Linked DNA regions of Homo sapiens: all the other regions are linked to region 1. Evidence: promoter capture Hi-C in 16 types of primary human blood cells and fetal thymus (Javierre and others, 2016). All regions are on one chromosome and are shown on one strand. The core of a region is centred on a gene start or on the middle of the fragment in contact, and the rest is flanking DNA. Distances in the headings are between cores, read along the strand shown. Region 1 holds the start of CXCL17 (C-X-C motif chemokine ligand 17). Region 2 holds the start of GRIK5 (glutamate ionotropic receptor kainate type subunit 5). Region 3 overlaps POU2F2 (POU class 2 homeobox 2). Region 4 overlaps POU2F2 (POU class 2 homeobox 2). Region 5 has its middle 7.5 kb from the start of POU2F2-AS2.

Region 1 (2,883 bases), core at 178-2,677:
GGGTGTCTGTCATAGTGATGGAAAAGTCTTCCCTTTCAGAACAGTGGTCTAGGCCCTAGGGCTATGGGGCTTAACAGCTTCCAGAGCACTCTCTCTACAAAGGAGGGGATGTTGGAAATTGGGGTGGAGAAGGGAGAATGCCTCCTGATTTTAGGACCAAGTTGATGCTGAGTATGTAACATAGCCATTTCACCTCAAAGTGGCCTTTGGGGAGATGGTGCTCACAAGCGGAAATATACATGGGGATCAGGTCTTTTCTGCGTGGTTGCTCTGTGCAGGGCTGGGCCACTTTATAGTGAAAGCTGGAGCAGATTTGGAACCCCTAAGCTAAAGTCGGCTTCCCAAAATGTGAGCTGTTACAGCAGGGCTTGCTATGGATAAAGCTTCAAATATGGACACTACCTGGTGACAGGCTTTTTCTAGTTTATTACGTTACCAGTAAATAGCATTAAGACATGTTGGTGGCATTCCAGTGCACTGTAAAGAATAGAAGCAAGGACTTCCTGATCTTCTATAAAGGTACCATTGCCTTCAACACTCTCCCACCATCATCATTAAGTTTAGCCATGAGAATTATGTTACTCTTTTGGAAAAGTGTTGGGGGAGAAGGCATGGGAGCAAATCTTTGTTGAGCTAGTATATACATACATACGTACGTGTGTGTGAGGGGGATCAGCTACAATTGCAGATATCTTCTTTTCTTTTCTTTCCTTTTTTTTTTTTTTTTTTTTTTGAGATGGAGTCTCACTCTGTCACCCAGGCTGGAGTACAGTGGTGCCGTCTCGGCTCACTGCAGCCTCCACCTCCTGGGTTCCAGCAATTCTCTGGCCTCAGCCTCCTGAGTAGCTGGGACTACAGGTGCGTGCCACCAGGTCTGGCTAATTTTTTGTATTTTTAGTAGAGATGGAGTTTCACCGTGTTAGCCAGGATGGTCTCGATCTCCTGACCTTGTAATCCGCCCTGCCTTGGCCTCCCAAAGTGCTGGGATTACAGGAGTGAGCCACCGCGCCCGGCCAGTTGCAGATATTTTCACATACAATATCTCGTTTAACTCTCTCAACATTGTTTGGGTGTAAGTACAGTTTGCTGTTTTTTTGTAAAGGAGGAAACTGGCATTGAGAAAGGCTCACTTGCCCCATCCCCCATAGCTAAGAGAAGCTGCATTTTGATGTGTCTGTGGCCTGTTTTGCCACATTTCTCCCCCCGTTTTCCCCTTCATAGACAGTCTTGTTTACCTGGATTCAGGCTGCTAGAGACCATGGACATCAGCATTAGTGGCAGCAACAGGAGGAGGGAAGAGATTAGAACTTTCATCGCAACTGTCGGTGCAGCTGTAAGTTGCTTGAAGAATATAATGGAAGGTTCCCTGCTGGAGGCTCCTGATCCCTGGGGATGACTCAGGTCAGGATACTCAGCCTGGTGGTCTATGCTTTAGTCCCAGGCCAGCGTTCCCATTTGAGGGCGAGAACAGGTGAGGTGACGCTGTCTTGCTGTTACGTAACAGATTAGACCATGTGCTTTATGGGAATCTGGGAGGTGAAACTGGTCAAACAAAAGAAATTCAGCATTCTTAAGAACATAAGAAGGTGACTGATAACTTGGCAGCTGTGCCAGTTCTCTCCTGTACTCTTTCCCGCCTCCTCACACCCCAATGCCTCATGATTTCTTCCTCAAATCTTTTTTTCTTGCTTGGATTTCCTTATACCTTTCAATGACCCTCTCTATCTGAATATTTGGCAGGAAAGTGGATACTAAGTGTTGGTAGAAGAGACTTTGACAAGGTCTGTTTCCCCTCTGTGCTCCTGCTCCCATCCTTGGCAAAATATCGGCAATAGTAGTGTTGTTGCCTGGGAAGTTGCCCTGTCCTCTCTCTGTTCACAATTCCCTCCAATTCTGCAGCCACATAAGATGGCAGCAGAGCAGGATCCGGGACAAGAGGCAGCTCCCCTGCCGAGAACACCGCCCCTGGAGCAGTGGGTGACACCAGGCCTCCTTGTGTGTCCATCGGGAAGGTGGCCATGGCTTAGTTGTTCTGGTCTAAAGGGGAGGGAACTGGGTTGGGGGAAGAGACCCCCAGAGCTTTAGGTCTCAGAGGGTTTGAGAAACAGGAGCCACAGGAGGGAAGGAGCCCTGAAGTGTGTTTGCCCAGCTGCTGGGGCGCCTGGCTCCAGCCCTTGTTTGGAAATGGCCCCGGGCAAAAGAAGAAAGGTAATAATACTTGAAGTAAACATTAGGGGCATAGAATATCAGCACTCACTAAACTTGACATTTATTTGAGACTTTAGGAAATGTGCTCAAAGGGAGAGGAGAGGCTGGGCTTGAATGCTGGGTGATATTCATGGGGGCTGAAGGGAAGGCTAACAAGGGAGCCCTTTTTTTGGAAGCCTCCAGGCAGGAGTGAGAGCAGGGGGTGTGACTTTATTTCCCTGAGAGAAGGAAAGAGGAAAGGCATGAGTCAAAGCCCTTTGGTTTTGTTTGACCATTCTTTTTTCTCCACGTTTTCAAATTATCTCGGCCTGTTGACTTGTCACAGAGTTGATTGTGGACTTTGCTACTGCAGTGTTTATAAAGCACTGCAGGGGCCAGGGACTGCTATGACTGAGCCTGTGTCCAAGTTGAAGGCTCAGGGTGGGCCTAAGCTTGTTCTGATGCAAATCACTGATGTGGCTTCTTTCTGGAAAATTCTAAAACCAGGGAGATGACATCCATTTCATAAAGCCTAGAGATATGGGTGCAGTCATCTCTCAAAGTGGCAGGAGTGCAGGGGGACTGAGAGGGACTTGGTTGGGTGGAACTTGAGCTGGAGTTGGGGGAGGATTTGGGTTGGTGGAGGGCAGAGAGGAGGGCCGTGCAGAGCAGGGGCGTGTTGTAGGAGAGGTGCCT
Region 2 (2,883 bases), core at 188-2,687, 370 kb before region 1:
GGCCCAAGAGACACAGGAAATGGGGGCTCAAAAGCGGAAAGACATATCCAGGAGATAGAGACTGGACGGGGTGGGGACAGGGCCAAGGCCCACCGCAGGCAGAGGATGAGGCTCAGAGGAACAGAAAGAGCCAGTCTGGGACCAGGACGGAGGCTTGGAGACAGCAGGGGCACGGACATGCCAGGGGCCCGGGGTAAGTGAGAGCCCAAGTAAGAGCAATCAGCCCCGTAGGACCCCAGAAAGCTAGAGGGCCAGGGGCGGCAGTGAGCTATGTACCCAGAAGAAGAGGTGAGAAGAGGTCGAGGTGAATGGACGCTGAGGAGATGGAGGGCGCAGAGCAGGCCCCTAGTGGGGGAGGGTACTTGCCAGTCCGGAGAACGGGGAGAATGTGGTGCCCCCCTGCCAGGCGGCACCAGAGCCCAGCCTTCCAGGACCCAGAACCCAGCCCAATCCCTGCCCTGCAGACACTCACGGATCCTGGTGGGACGGAGGGCTGGGCTCCCTCGAGGCCCGAAGACCGACAGCGGGAGGTGCTCTGGCGCTGGGTGGTGGTGGGGCTGGGCGGGGGGAGAGGGCAGTCCACAGGGCCCCCTCCCCCGCCGCCGGTGGTGGCTCCCAACTAATCCAAAACGGTGGCTCCACAGGAGCAGGGAGGAAGGACAGGTGGAAGAGGAGAGGGCGGGCCGGGGAGGGGAGGAAGGGGAAAGGAGAAAATGGAGGAGAGAAGGGGAGAGAGGAGAGGGGGAAGGAGCAAATGGAGGGGAAGGAGGGAGGAAAGGAGGAGAGGAAGGTGAAAACGGAAGGGGGGGGCACAGGCAAAGCCGGGGGAGGGGGAAGCTGGCCCAGGAAAGGGCCCCCGCCCCCTCCCCTAGCCGGGCCGGCCTGGGGGGGCCACAGGGGGCGAGGACTGGGTGGAGAAAAGGAAGCCGGCCATCAGGAGAAGTGGGGGAGGGGAGGGCCTGCTGGGGGAGGGGGCCGCCCCCTTTCCCCCTCCCCCCTGGAGCCTGGGCCCTGCCCTGGTTGAGGCAAGGGCCCGGAGTCCTCAAGCCCTCAGCCCCCACGGGAAAAGCATGCTGGGGGCGGGGAGAGCCCGGGAGTGGAGAGCTGGGGAGGATGGAGAGCTGGGAGACCCGGAGAGGCCAAGAAGGGGGCAAATGAGGTGGAGAGATAGGGAGGAGGGAGAGGAGGATGGAGAGGAGCAGGTGGAAGAGAAAGGCGGAGGAGGGTGGGGTGTCCCAGGGGCTCCCGGTGCTGGGCCTCAGTGGGAGGGCCTGGCGACACACTCCTGGTCCCCTGTGAGGAGCCGGCTCCAGTCCCCGGCTCCAGTCCCCGGCTGGGCCTGCCTCCCTGCCGCTGGCTGCCGCCACCGCTCAGTCTCCCCTCCGAGGCCGCCGCCTGCCTGCCCGCCTGCCGCCTGCGCTGGGTCCTGGAGCGCAGTGGGGTGGTTCAGGAGAGAGAGAAGAGGGAGGGAGGGAGGCAGGGAGGAGGGCGGGCAGGAGGAAGGGAGGGAGGCAGGCAAAGAGAGAGTAGGGAGGTGAGTCGGGGGAGGGGGAGCCTGTATTGGTTGGGGCTGGGGGCCCCCCGCGAGGAGAATGCTGATGAGAAGAAGGAGCTGCATTGGATGGAAGGCCCACCCCCGAGCCACCCCCTCTACCACACCATGCCACCGCCCTGCCCAGGCAGCCCTGGGCACAGGAGCCCACAGAGATGAGAGGCAAGAAGACCCAGGGAGAAGGCCACTGAGATGAGGGGAGAGGGCTACAGAGATGAAGAGAAATGAAGAGAAGAGAGACAGCCGTCAAGACTGTCCAGAGAAGTGGGCTGAGGCCCACAAACCCCACAAGGACAAGGACAGGAAAAGCCCAGGGATAAGAAAGAAAGGCCCATGGAGACAAGGGAGCAGCCTACAGAGACAAGCAAAAGGACCTCGGAGACAAGGGGCAGTAATGTGGACATAGAGACCTCCCGCGAAGGAAAACGGGAGAAGCCAGAGACACAAGAGAGAGGCCCCTGGAAACAGAAAGCACTCCTCAGATATGGGGAGCGGTCCACAGGGCAGGGAGAGAGCCAAGGAGAGCCGAAGAAGGTCACAGAAACAAGGGAGGCCTACAGACACCAGGGTACCAAAAAGACAAGGATGTGGCTCATAGACACAAGAGAGCCACTGAGGCAGGAGCTGCCAGCCTGGAGATGCGGGGCAAGCCTCCCCCAATATAAATAGCTCCTATAGAGGTGAGGGGATGGGTGGTGAGTATGAGAATTCCCTATAGTGCACAGAGAAATCCTTGGGACCCACAGAGATGAGTGGGTGGAGAGAAGGGGCCCTCATTCTCTAGTCACAGGAGCAGAGAGGCAGTGGGAAAGGTGGATGGGACAAGGAGAGGAAGCTGGAGGGCAGAGCCAGAAGTGGGAGACTCCTTCCCAGGGAACACCCTGCAGCCTCTCAGAAGGAGCTGAGCAGGACAGGGGGATGGAAGAGAGAAGCGACACAGATCTTGGAGTGGGGGTGGGTGGTGCATGGCTGGGTGGGGGGTGAAATTTGGGGGGAAGAAACATGACAGTTGGCGCCGAAGGCTGAGCCCGTGACTCACCACCACCCCCGATGCTCGTGATGGGGAGGAGACACTGACACACTCACGTGCGGCCCACAGCATATGTGACCGCATGCCTCGAACACACAGCTGGCACATGGCAACTCCTGGACCACATGCCAGCCCAGCACAGGAAGCCCTCTGCAAGCTGGCATGTGGGGCATCCTGGACACACATCTGACACATATATCTGACGCTGAAGGACCACCAACTTTGCACACACCTCCTTACCCCACTTGGTCAACATCTACACCGCCCCCTCAAACATCCACACTTAACTCCAGTCAGGCCT
Region 3 (2,883 bases), core at 261-2,760, 350 kb before region 1:
AGAGGAAGAGAGAGGCACCCTGGTGTTCATGTGGGTTAGAAAAACTAGTCAGGTCAAGAGGTCACCCTGACTTGGCTAGTCCCTCGCCAGATCTCCCCAGGGCTTGGAGAGCCCGTCATGGCCTTCTCCAGGGAGATGGATGGAAAACTCATATCCTTCCCCTCCTCCTGATCTCAGCCCCAACTCCTACTGGGGCTTGGGTTCCCCATCCCTACCCACCCCCACACACACACCCACCCCACCCCCCAGAAGAGAACAGAGAGAGGTGGTTTAGTTACTGGCATCAATTTTTTTTTTTTTTTTTTTGGCACAATGAAAAGGCCCACCATTAGGGTAGACCCAGTCTCTGTCCCTCCCTTAAGTAGGAGGTCAGGGTTGGGGAGAAGAGAAATTCAGAGGGCTCCCCACTGCTCCAACCCACTCATCTCTCCTCTCTTTCTAGCCCAGGCCCTTGGCCCCCAACCTCGGACATCTAACCTAGCCCATAGCCTAGCCTGGGGTTGCCCTCCCCATCCCCCACATAAAGCTCCCCAGCCCTCCAACTCTCTCGCTCATACACAGACACACGGACACAGGCTCTGTACAGACCACAAAATAAAAACGATGAGATAGTTTTGTTTCCCGGAGTCGAGACGGGGGACCAGAGTGTAAGGGGCAGATGGGGGTGGGGGGCATGAATTCCCCCATCACCTTCCCAACCCTGGCTCCCTCCAGCCCCCCAGCCCCTTGCCCTGGCTGGCCCCCAGCCAACGATATTTGGTTTCCTTTTTTTAACATTAAAGTTCTATGAGGTATTTGGTGCCTTATCTCGAGTCCTCAGGGGAGGGGGGCCCAGGGGGAGACCTGGGGCTCACCTGCCCCTCCCTCCCTCCTACCCCCTTCCCAATATTTGGTTTCACAGCTGTAGTTAAAGCTTGGGATTTGGTTATTTTTCCCCCTCCCAGGAATTTTTTTTTCTTGTTTTTCTTTTCCTAGGTGTGAGGGTTGGATGGGGAGGGTCCCCAGCACCCCCGGCTGCACAGGGGTCCCTCCACCAACATCAGGGCATCTGCCCCATCCCTGCCCCCTGCTCCTCCTCTCCTCTTTACCCCACTCCCACATACTGGGGTGGGGAGAGGTCCCAGGTGGTGGGACTTGATGGGGAGGAAGCAGGATGAAGTGGGTGGTGGTGAGTCCTGGATTTTCTTTCCTTTTTTTTTTTTTTTTTTCCTTTTTGGTCTAGAATCATAGTTTTTGTTTGAGTCATCTCCACCATGCCTTCCATGCTGCCTGTCTTCTCGGAGGGGGTTTTTGGTTGTAATTCCTTTCATTTTGCTCTGCTCAAATGTCCTTCCTATTTGGTCAGGAGCCCTTGGCCCCCTCTCCACCCTTGGGCTGGGGCCCAAGCCCTCTTGCCAGTCCCTTCTCTCTTCAGGAAATAAACATGGACAAACTCAGAGGTAGGGTAAGGGCAGGGAGTCGTTCAGCGGAGATGCTTACATTCCGGTGAGGTTGGGTAGACGAGGTGCCAGGCCCCATCGTGCCGGGGTGGGAGGGGCGGCTACTTCACCACTGCCCGGACAAGGCACCCAGAGGCCCCTGCAATGGCCGAGTCTCTGCTGCCTCCGTCGCCCAGCCCAACAGTTTCATTTCCCGGGTGGGAGAAGGGAGACAAGGAAAAAAGAGAACGCTGAGGCCTGGAGCTCCATCTGCCTCTCCTCAGAGTGTCCGGCAGAAAGTGGAAGCTGCCCAGGCCAAAGCCCTGCGGTCTCAGGGCTCTCCTCTCTCTCTGCTCCTGCCCAACAAGGGGCAGGGGCCACACTACGGCTGTCAGGCCCCACCCTGATTTCAATGGCTCGTGTCCTTCACTGCAACACTTTGGTTTGAGGAGAGACACAGAAAGAACAAGATTGAGAGAGAAGAGAGGAGAGCAAAGGGAGAGAGAGGAGACAGGAAGGAGGAGAGGAGAGAGGAAGGAGGGGAGGAGAGAGGAAGGAGGGGAGGAGAGAGGTCAGACAAAAGAGAACCGAAAAAGAAATCAAAGGAGGAATCAAACCACCCAAAAGTTGTTAAGTTTTCCTTCATCTGTTCTTTTTGCTTTCTTACTCCTTTTTTTCCTGTCTTTTTTTAAAGCTTTTTCAGTTGATTTGGGAGGGGAGTTTGGGGCTCTTCACCCCTGTCCCTGATACCCTCTCTCAGCCCCGCCCACCCGCTTCCATCTGCCCTGGCCGAGGGACAGGCCCTGCCCCAGCCGCCCCCTCCGGCTTTCCCAAAGACAACGTCCATGAGGTATTTGTGAAGAGAAAGAAGCATCCGTCCTTCCATCCGCCTTGGGGAACAAGGGCCTGGACCACCGGTGCAGGGGCTTGGCTCCGCCTCGCGGTTCCATCTTATTCTTGAAGAGTCCTCATCTTCTTTCCCTTTTATATATATATATATATATATGTTTATATATATATATAAATTTTTTTTCTAGTTTAAATTTATTGTTTGTTTGTTTCTGTTTTTTTGGTTTTCGGTTCAAAACTTTGTTGGCCTCCACAATAGCAGGAGGGCAGGGTGGCTCCCAGTGGTGTCTCTCCTCTGTCCGTCGTCAGTGGAGACGTGTCCGGGGCTGGTCAAACACAGGGTCCAGCCAAGAGTTGTGGAGGTCTTGTGGGAGTGGTGGCCACCACCGCGCCCTCTCAGATGGGGACCACAGGCTGTGGCACTGTCCCCACCACATGGACCCTGATGGGGATGCCATCTCGAGGAACCCCACCACTGGGGTGTGTGCGTGCGTGCATGTGGGGGGAGGGAGAGGCATTCGCCAGTACCAGAGGGGCACAGGGTGGGAAAAGCGAGGTGAGTTCTCTTTTTGGTTTCTGGTTAATGTCAAAGAACGTGAAGGATCCCACGGATAGG
Region 4 (2,883 bases), core at 234-2,733, 330 kb before region 1:
AAAGGGAAGGCGGACAACGGACACAGTTTCAGTGAGATAACAGGAATACATTCTGGTGTTCTATTGCACGGTGACTACTGCTAATAATGTACTGCATATTTCAAAATATCAAAGACAGAGTTTTAGTTTTAGTTTTTGTTTTTTAAGAGACAGGGTCTTGCTCTGTTACCCAAGCTGGAGTGCAGTGCGTGATTATAGCTCACTGCAGCCTTGAACTCCTGGGCTCAGGCCATCCTCCCGCTTCAGACTCCCAAGTAGCTGGGATTACACTGCGCCACTGTGTCTGGCAAGAAGAGTACTTTAAATGTTTTCACCACGAAGAAATGATAAATATTTGAGGTGATAAGTATGCTAATTAGCCTGATTTGATCATTCCACAATGTATACCTGTATCAAAACATCATATTTTACTCCATAAATATATACAATGATTATTTGCTACTTAAAAATAAAATAAAACTCAGCTGGATGCAGTGACTCACGCTTATAATCCCTGCACTTTGGGAGGCTGAGGTGGGAGGATCACTTGAGGCCAGAAGTTCAAGACCAGTTGGGCAACATAGTGAAACCCCATCTCCACAATTTTTTTTTTTTTTTTTACTTATCCAGATATGATGGTACATGCCTGTAGTCTCAGCTACTTGGGAGGCTGAGGTGGGAGGATTGCTTCAGCCAGGAGGTTGAGGTTGCAGTGAGTTATGATGGCGCCACTGCACCTCACTGCAGTGAGTTATGATGGTGATAGAGCAAGACCTCGTCTCTAAAAAAATGAATAACTACATAAATAAAATAAAACTTAAAATTAAAATGAGGTCAGGCTTTCTGACACTCTGAGTAATCTCAGTCTGTCTGGTGGTGGGACGCACTGCCTGGGAAGGGAGTGGGTGCCTGCCATGGAAGCCACCTGGGTGAAAATCCCCACCTGGCAACAACACCAACAAGGAAACGCCTAACCTAGGGGAAGGTTAGACTAGTGGGGTGCAAGGGTCCCTTCCAGCTTGGAAACTCGGGGGTTTGAGCCTTAGCCCTCTCACCTGCTTCTTGCTGTGTGCCTGGGGGAAGCCACTTTCCCTCTGGGCCCCAGCCTCCTTAACTGTACAGGATCACGATGCAAGTTGTTATGGAGAGACCTGGGCCTTGGAGCCCAGAATCCTGACTGCCCCTCACACACCTCAGGCCGTTCCTTACCCTCTTTAAGCCTCAGTTTCCTCAGGTGACACCACAATAAGTCTTACTTCATGGAGCTGTTAAAGGAATTAAATGAGACAATATGTGTAGAATGTTTAGCCTGATTCCTCTTCACTTAATTGGTCCTTCATAAATGGCAGTCATTATGACTGAGTCATTTCTCTCCCAGGGCCTCAGTTTTCTTATCTGTAAAATGGGGATAATAATGTCTACTTTTTCACTGGGTTGTTCTGAGGCCTGAGTAATATTATCTAGAAAGCATTTTGGAAATTACAACATATCCCTCAAAATGAGCATTTGCTACCATTGCCCACCTCATGTCACCACACTTGAATGTGAGCTCTTGAGGGTGGGAACCCAATCTGGCTGAGTCCTTCCTTCCTTCCATCTGTCCATCTATCCTTCTTTCCTTTTCTTTCTTTCTCTCTTTCTTTGGAGACAGGGTCTTACTCTATCTTCTGGGCTGGAGTGTCATGGTGCAATCATAGCTCACTGCCATCTTGACCTCCCATGCTCAAGCGATCCTCCTGCCTCAGCCTCTCAAGTAGCTTGGGGGCTATGGGCATGCATCACCACACCTGGTTAATTTTTTTTTTTTAAGATACAGGGTCTCTCTATGTTGCCCAGGCTAGTCTCGAACTCGCCTCAAGCCGTCCTCCTGCTTTGGCCTCCTAAAGTGTTGGGATTATAGGCATAAGCCACTGTGCCTGGCCAAATTCATTCTCTTCCTGACAACTAACAACTTCCAGCTCCTGCCCAGATACTCTGCTGAGCTTCAGCCTCAAATATGCATCTGCTTAGTTGATGTTCCCATGTGGATGATTAATAGACTCATCAAACCCTAACATGTCCAAAATGAAACTGCTGGCTCTCTACCCCAGCCTTCCAAAACATCCCATTCCTCCCATCTTCCCCAACTCAGGAAACCACGTCATTACCACCCAGCTGCTGAAGCCAAAATCCTAGGAGTCATCCTTGACCTATCCAATCAATACAAAATAGCAACCAGGATCCCCATCCTCACCCTCCTGGCTCAAGCCACCCTCATGTCCCATCTGTATGCCTTCAAGGACTTCCTACTGGGCTCTCTTTTCTACTCTTATCCCCTGCAGTCCATTCTCCTATCCCCTGCAGTCGATTAGTACAGTCACTCCACTAGGGCAAGCTCTAAAGATGGGAGTAGGGGCAGAGGAGTGGCCGTTCTCCAGTGTGGGTTCTTCTCTGGACCCCCAGTGGTTGGCCCTGTGACATGGAACCCAGGAAGTTGTGGCGATCAGGGCAGAATACCACAAATGGAGAATGATTCAACAGGGAGAAAAAAATACCTACATATGGACTGCATATTACATCACATGCTACCTTATGCTAAAATTCCAGGACAGACAGGCAACAGCAGATCCCAACCCAGGAACCAGTGGGAGCAACTGGCATGCCTGGGCCAGGCTCCTGGACTCCAAGGCCCTGTGGATGAACTGACCACACACCTCCAGGTGGGCAGTTTTGATTGGCCTGGTACCCACTGCCCCTTCTTCAACTTATTCAAGCAACAGAACCCATCTCTTTCAGGGGTTACACTTTCCCATCCTCAAGTCACGAGGTCCAGGTAGGGCTGACCTTGCCTTCTCTGGGGTCGAGGGCAAGGGCTCAAATCTAGCCAGGGGACGTGTTTTTGTTTGTTTATTTTATTGAGACAGA
Region 5 (2,883 bases), core at 206-2,705, 280 kb before region 1:
AAATATCAGTTTCCTCACTGGAATGTACCAGCCCTGTTACGTGTTACCAAGTCAGTCACCCACATGTCCATGAAATCATGGATATTTAATGAACATCTATTTGAAGACAAATAATTGAAATCATAGACCTAACAGTGACCTCTACCAACTGGAAACATAATTAAACCCCTCTGTTACTTCAGCCCAACTTTCAGACGTTCCTCAAAGCCAGTCTCTAGCTCCCAAACTAATTCTGCAACCTGGAAATTCCTTGACTCTCTTTTCGAGGATGTGAGGATTCCTGGAAAAACTGCAACTTCGGTTCCCTGGAGAAAGCACTCTAGAGAAATGACACATCCTGGAACAAACACTCTCAGCGATAACAGGGGTCCATGAATGAGCTTCAGGGGGTCTGTGATCATCCCAAAGTGTAGCACAACTGGGCAAATGTAGGTATGTGTTTTCCTGGGAGAAGCTCTATACTGTTGTGAAACTAGGTATCTATGGGCCAAAGGTTGCCTGAAATATGTTGTTTGGACCACGAGGAGATTTTGCAAGTTTTGCATTAGTTGCCAACATTTAAAGATTGGAAGACTTCACACACAAGTCTGGGTTCCTGGCTTCTCTTGAAAAATCAGAAACCCTGGCAAGTCAGGGTTGCATCTGTGCATGAGAACAGTCAGTGGAGCTAAAAAGCAGTCCCCCACCCCATGCATTTTTCAGTCCATCATAGTCCCTACAATGCTGGGTTGCAAACCCTGGGCTACAGCTTCCATCTGCTTCTTAAAATGAGACTGTGATTCCTGGTACAGCAAAGGACTCCTACCCAGGAGTCCTACAAGGGCACCCAAAGGCCTCCCTGGGGTCCTGAGACCTGTGGGTTAAGCTTCTCTGGTGGGAATAGGGGTGGCAGTAGAGGGCTGTCCCACCCCAGAAGCCCTGTCCACCCTCCTCCCTAGATGCTCATTGCCAGGGCCTCACCAAGCAAGCTGGAGCAAACACCAGGGCAAATGGCCAGAGCCCCTGCTTCCCACAGAGGTGAGCAGCAGGAGAACTATGGCTTCTACCTGGGAGTCTCAGTGGGCTTCAGGGAGGGGCTTCATAAAACCTTCTTTGTTCAGGGGAACGCTTCCAGCCATATTTTGAGCTCCCACTTCCTGCAGCCACACGATTTCAAGGAATAAGTACTTTCATCTTCACGCCACCTCCATGTGGTAAATGCTATTAATTACCCTCCTTTGACAGATGGGGAAACTGAGCCATGCCCAGGATCACTCAGCCACCTGGCTCTTCTTCCTCTATCTCCTTTTGCTCTCAGGATGGCACTTAAGGTGGGTTCTATTAGTATTCCCATTTACAGACAAGGAAATGGAAGCTCAAACTTTCCCAAGTCCCTCGAAGTCAGGAAAAGAGATTCGAACATAGGTGTGCTTGAACCCAAAGCTGTGATCTGAGCCACCGAGTTACCCCCATCTCTCTCCTACTGAGCCGTAACACTGATCAGCAGAAACACCCACAGTCATCAACACCAAGAACCACTGGTTTGGCCCGAAAGCCACAGGATGCATGGAGGGTGAGAACAAAGCAGTCAGATTCTAACCTCTGGGTGGGCAGAGTGGAGAAGGGCAGCAACACACCCAGGGTGAGGCCAGAGACGAGGATGGGAAAGCAGAGACTTCTGTGAGAAACCAGAAGGTGCATCAATAAGCAAAACTCTAAGGCCGTGGTCCTTACCTCTTGGGCAGACGCAGCGAAGCTAATACATTCAGGCCACCAACCCGGTCCAGTCGAGAACCTGGAGAGAGAGGAGAATGCAGTCAACATCCCGGAGAATTCCCCATCCTCATGCAGGATGATGCACTCCTCCAGTGGAGGAACCCTCCTCCTGTCACATCATCAGGAGCTGCAGTTGGCTAACTGTGGAGTCAGGTGCCTGGAACTCAGGTCCAGTCAGCCACTTGTTGCCTTCAGTAGTCACTTCTGGCCTCTGAGCCTCTGTGTCCCCAACTCATAAATGGGCATACTAGTGCCTGCCACTGTGGAACATCTGTTTTTCCCATCAGACTGGAAGCTTCTTAAAGTGCAGGGACTGTAACTGTGTCTTGAAGCTTTTGTGTTTGGCAGAGGGCCTGGCAAATTTGAGATGCTCAATTAGTGCATAACGGACGACGGAGTGAATGGATGGGTGGATGGAGGAATTAACTGATTAAATGGTGTATCTCAAAGGACTGCTACGAGGAACAAATGAGAAAGAAATTTGAAAAGGTTACTCATTATTAAGTTCCTATGTGCTCTGGGGAGATTAAAAATAAAAGTCATAATGATATTTCTGACTTGTACATTTGTCCATTCATTTGTGCATTTAGTTCATCAACAAATATTGAGATTTCTCTGGCTCTGAATCAAGTGTGGCAGGGGACAGAGATGAATTAGACAAGGTCTCTGCTCTATTACGGGGCTCACAGGCAAGTTGAGGAGACAGAAGGAAGAGCCAATGCCAACATGCTGGGGTAAGCAGAGGGTGCTGCGGGCATCCTGGGTGAGATCACAGAAGACTTAGGGAGGAAACAACACCCAAGCCAAACCTGGAAGACAAATTTTAATCAGAGAAAGAACCAGGTGCAAGGAACGAGAGAATGCCAGGACTTTGCCTGTCCAGGGTTCAGTAAGAAAAATGGGGAAAGACGAGGCTTCCAGATTGCAGGGGCTGCTCCCTGCAGGGCGTCAAGTGCCTGGTCCAAGCAGCCAGGGCTTCGTCAGAGAGGGAGAGGGATACAATCCAGTTTGCCTTTGGAAAGGTCCTTCTACCTCCTGTGTACAAGATGGAGAGAACAGAGAAGTAGGCAAGAGGTCAGGAGGCCCATCCCCAAAGAGGGTTTGCTGAGCCTCTCCACAGCCCTGTAG

The links. Contacts are between HindIII fragments. The CHiCAGO score rates a contact against its expected background, and 5 or more counts as called.
Region 2: the fragment with the promoter of GRIK5 here is called in contact with the fragment with the promoter of CXCL17 in region 1 in 9 of 17 cell types (naive CD8 T cells, naive CD4 T cells, erythroblasts and 6 more); the score reaches 7.7 in naive CD8 T cells.
Region 3: a contact is called between a fragment that was not itself captured here and the fragment with the promoter of CXCL17 in region 1, in 5 of 17 cell types (naive CD4 T cells, total CD8 T cells, fetal thymus and 2 more). The highest score is 8.0, in naive CD4 T cells.
Region 4: a contact is called between a fragment that was not itself captured here and the fragment with the promoter of CXCL17 in region 1, in 14 of 17 cell types (fetal thymus, naive CD4 T cells, total CD8 T cells and 11 more). The highest score is 21.1, in fetal thymus.
Region 5: a fragment that was not itself captured here is called in contact with the fragment with the promoter of CXCL17 in region 1 in 2 of 17 cell types (erythroblasts and naive CD4 T cells); the score reaches 5.5 in erythroblasts.

The regions. Positions count from the first base shown.
Region 1 is chr19:42,441,519-42,444,401 of GRCh38, forward strand. It overlaps CXCL17 (C-X-C motif chemokine ligand 17), which reads right to left and starts at 1,428. Exons shown (of 4, transcript NM_198477.3): 1 at 1,236-1,428. The coding sequence starts at 1,314. The region is part of intron 1 of LIPE-AS1 (LIPE antisense RNA 1); the gene reads left to right. The HindIII fragment of the contact is 2,256 bases long and covers 382-2,637 here.
Region 2 is chr19:42,068,769-42,071,651 of GRCh38, forward strand. It overlaps GRIK5 (glutamate ionotropic receptor kainate type subunit 5), which reads right to left and starts at 1,438. Exons shown (of 20, transcript NM_002088.5): 1 at 473-1,438. It also overlaps a transcript of ZNF574 not described here. The HindIII fragment of the contact is 24,593 bases long and covers 1-2,883 here.
Region 3 is chr19:42,087,308-42,090,190 of GRCh38, forward strand. It overlaps POU2F2 (POU class 2 homeobox 2), which reads right to left. Exons shown (of 15, transcript NM_001394376.1): 15 at 1-2,883. Among named protein-coding and RNA genes, the nearest start is that of ZNF574, 13 kb to the left of the region's middle. The HindIII fragment of the contact is 1,199 bases long and covers 912-2,110 here.
Region 4 is chr19:42,109,513-42,112,395 of GRCh38, forward strand. The region is part of intron 5 of POU2F2 (POU class 2 homeobox 2); the gene reads right to left. Among named protein-coding and RNA genes, the nearest start is that of POU2F2, 21 kb to the right of the region's middle. The HindIII fragment of the contact is 4,296 bases long and covers 1-2,883 here.
Region 5 is chr19:42,158,619-42,161,501 of GRCh38, forward strand. It overlaps a transcript of POU2F2 not described here. Among named protein-coding and RNA genes, the nearest start is that of POU2F2-AS2, 7.5 kb to the left of the region's middle. The HindIII fragment of the contact is 1,185 bases long and covers 864-2,048 here.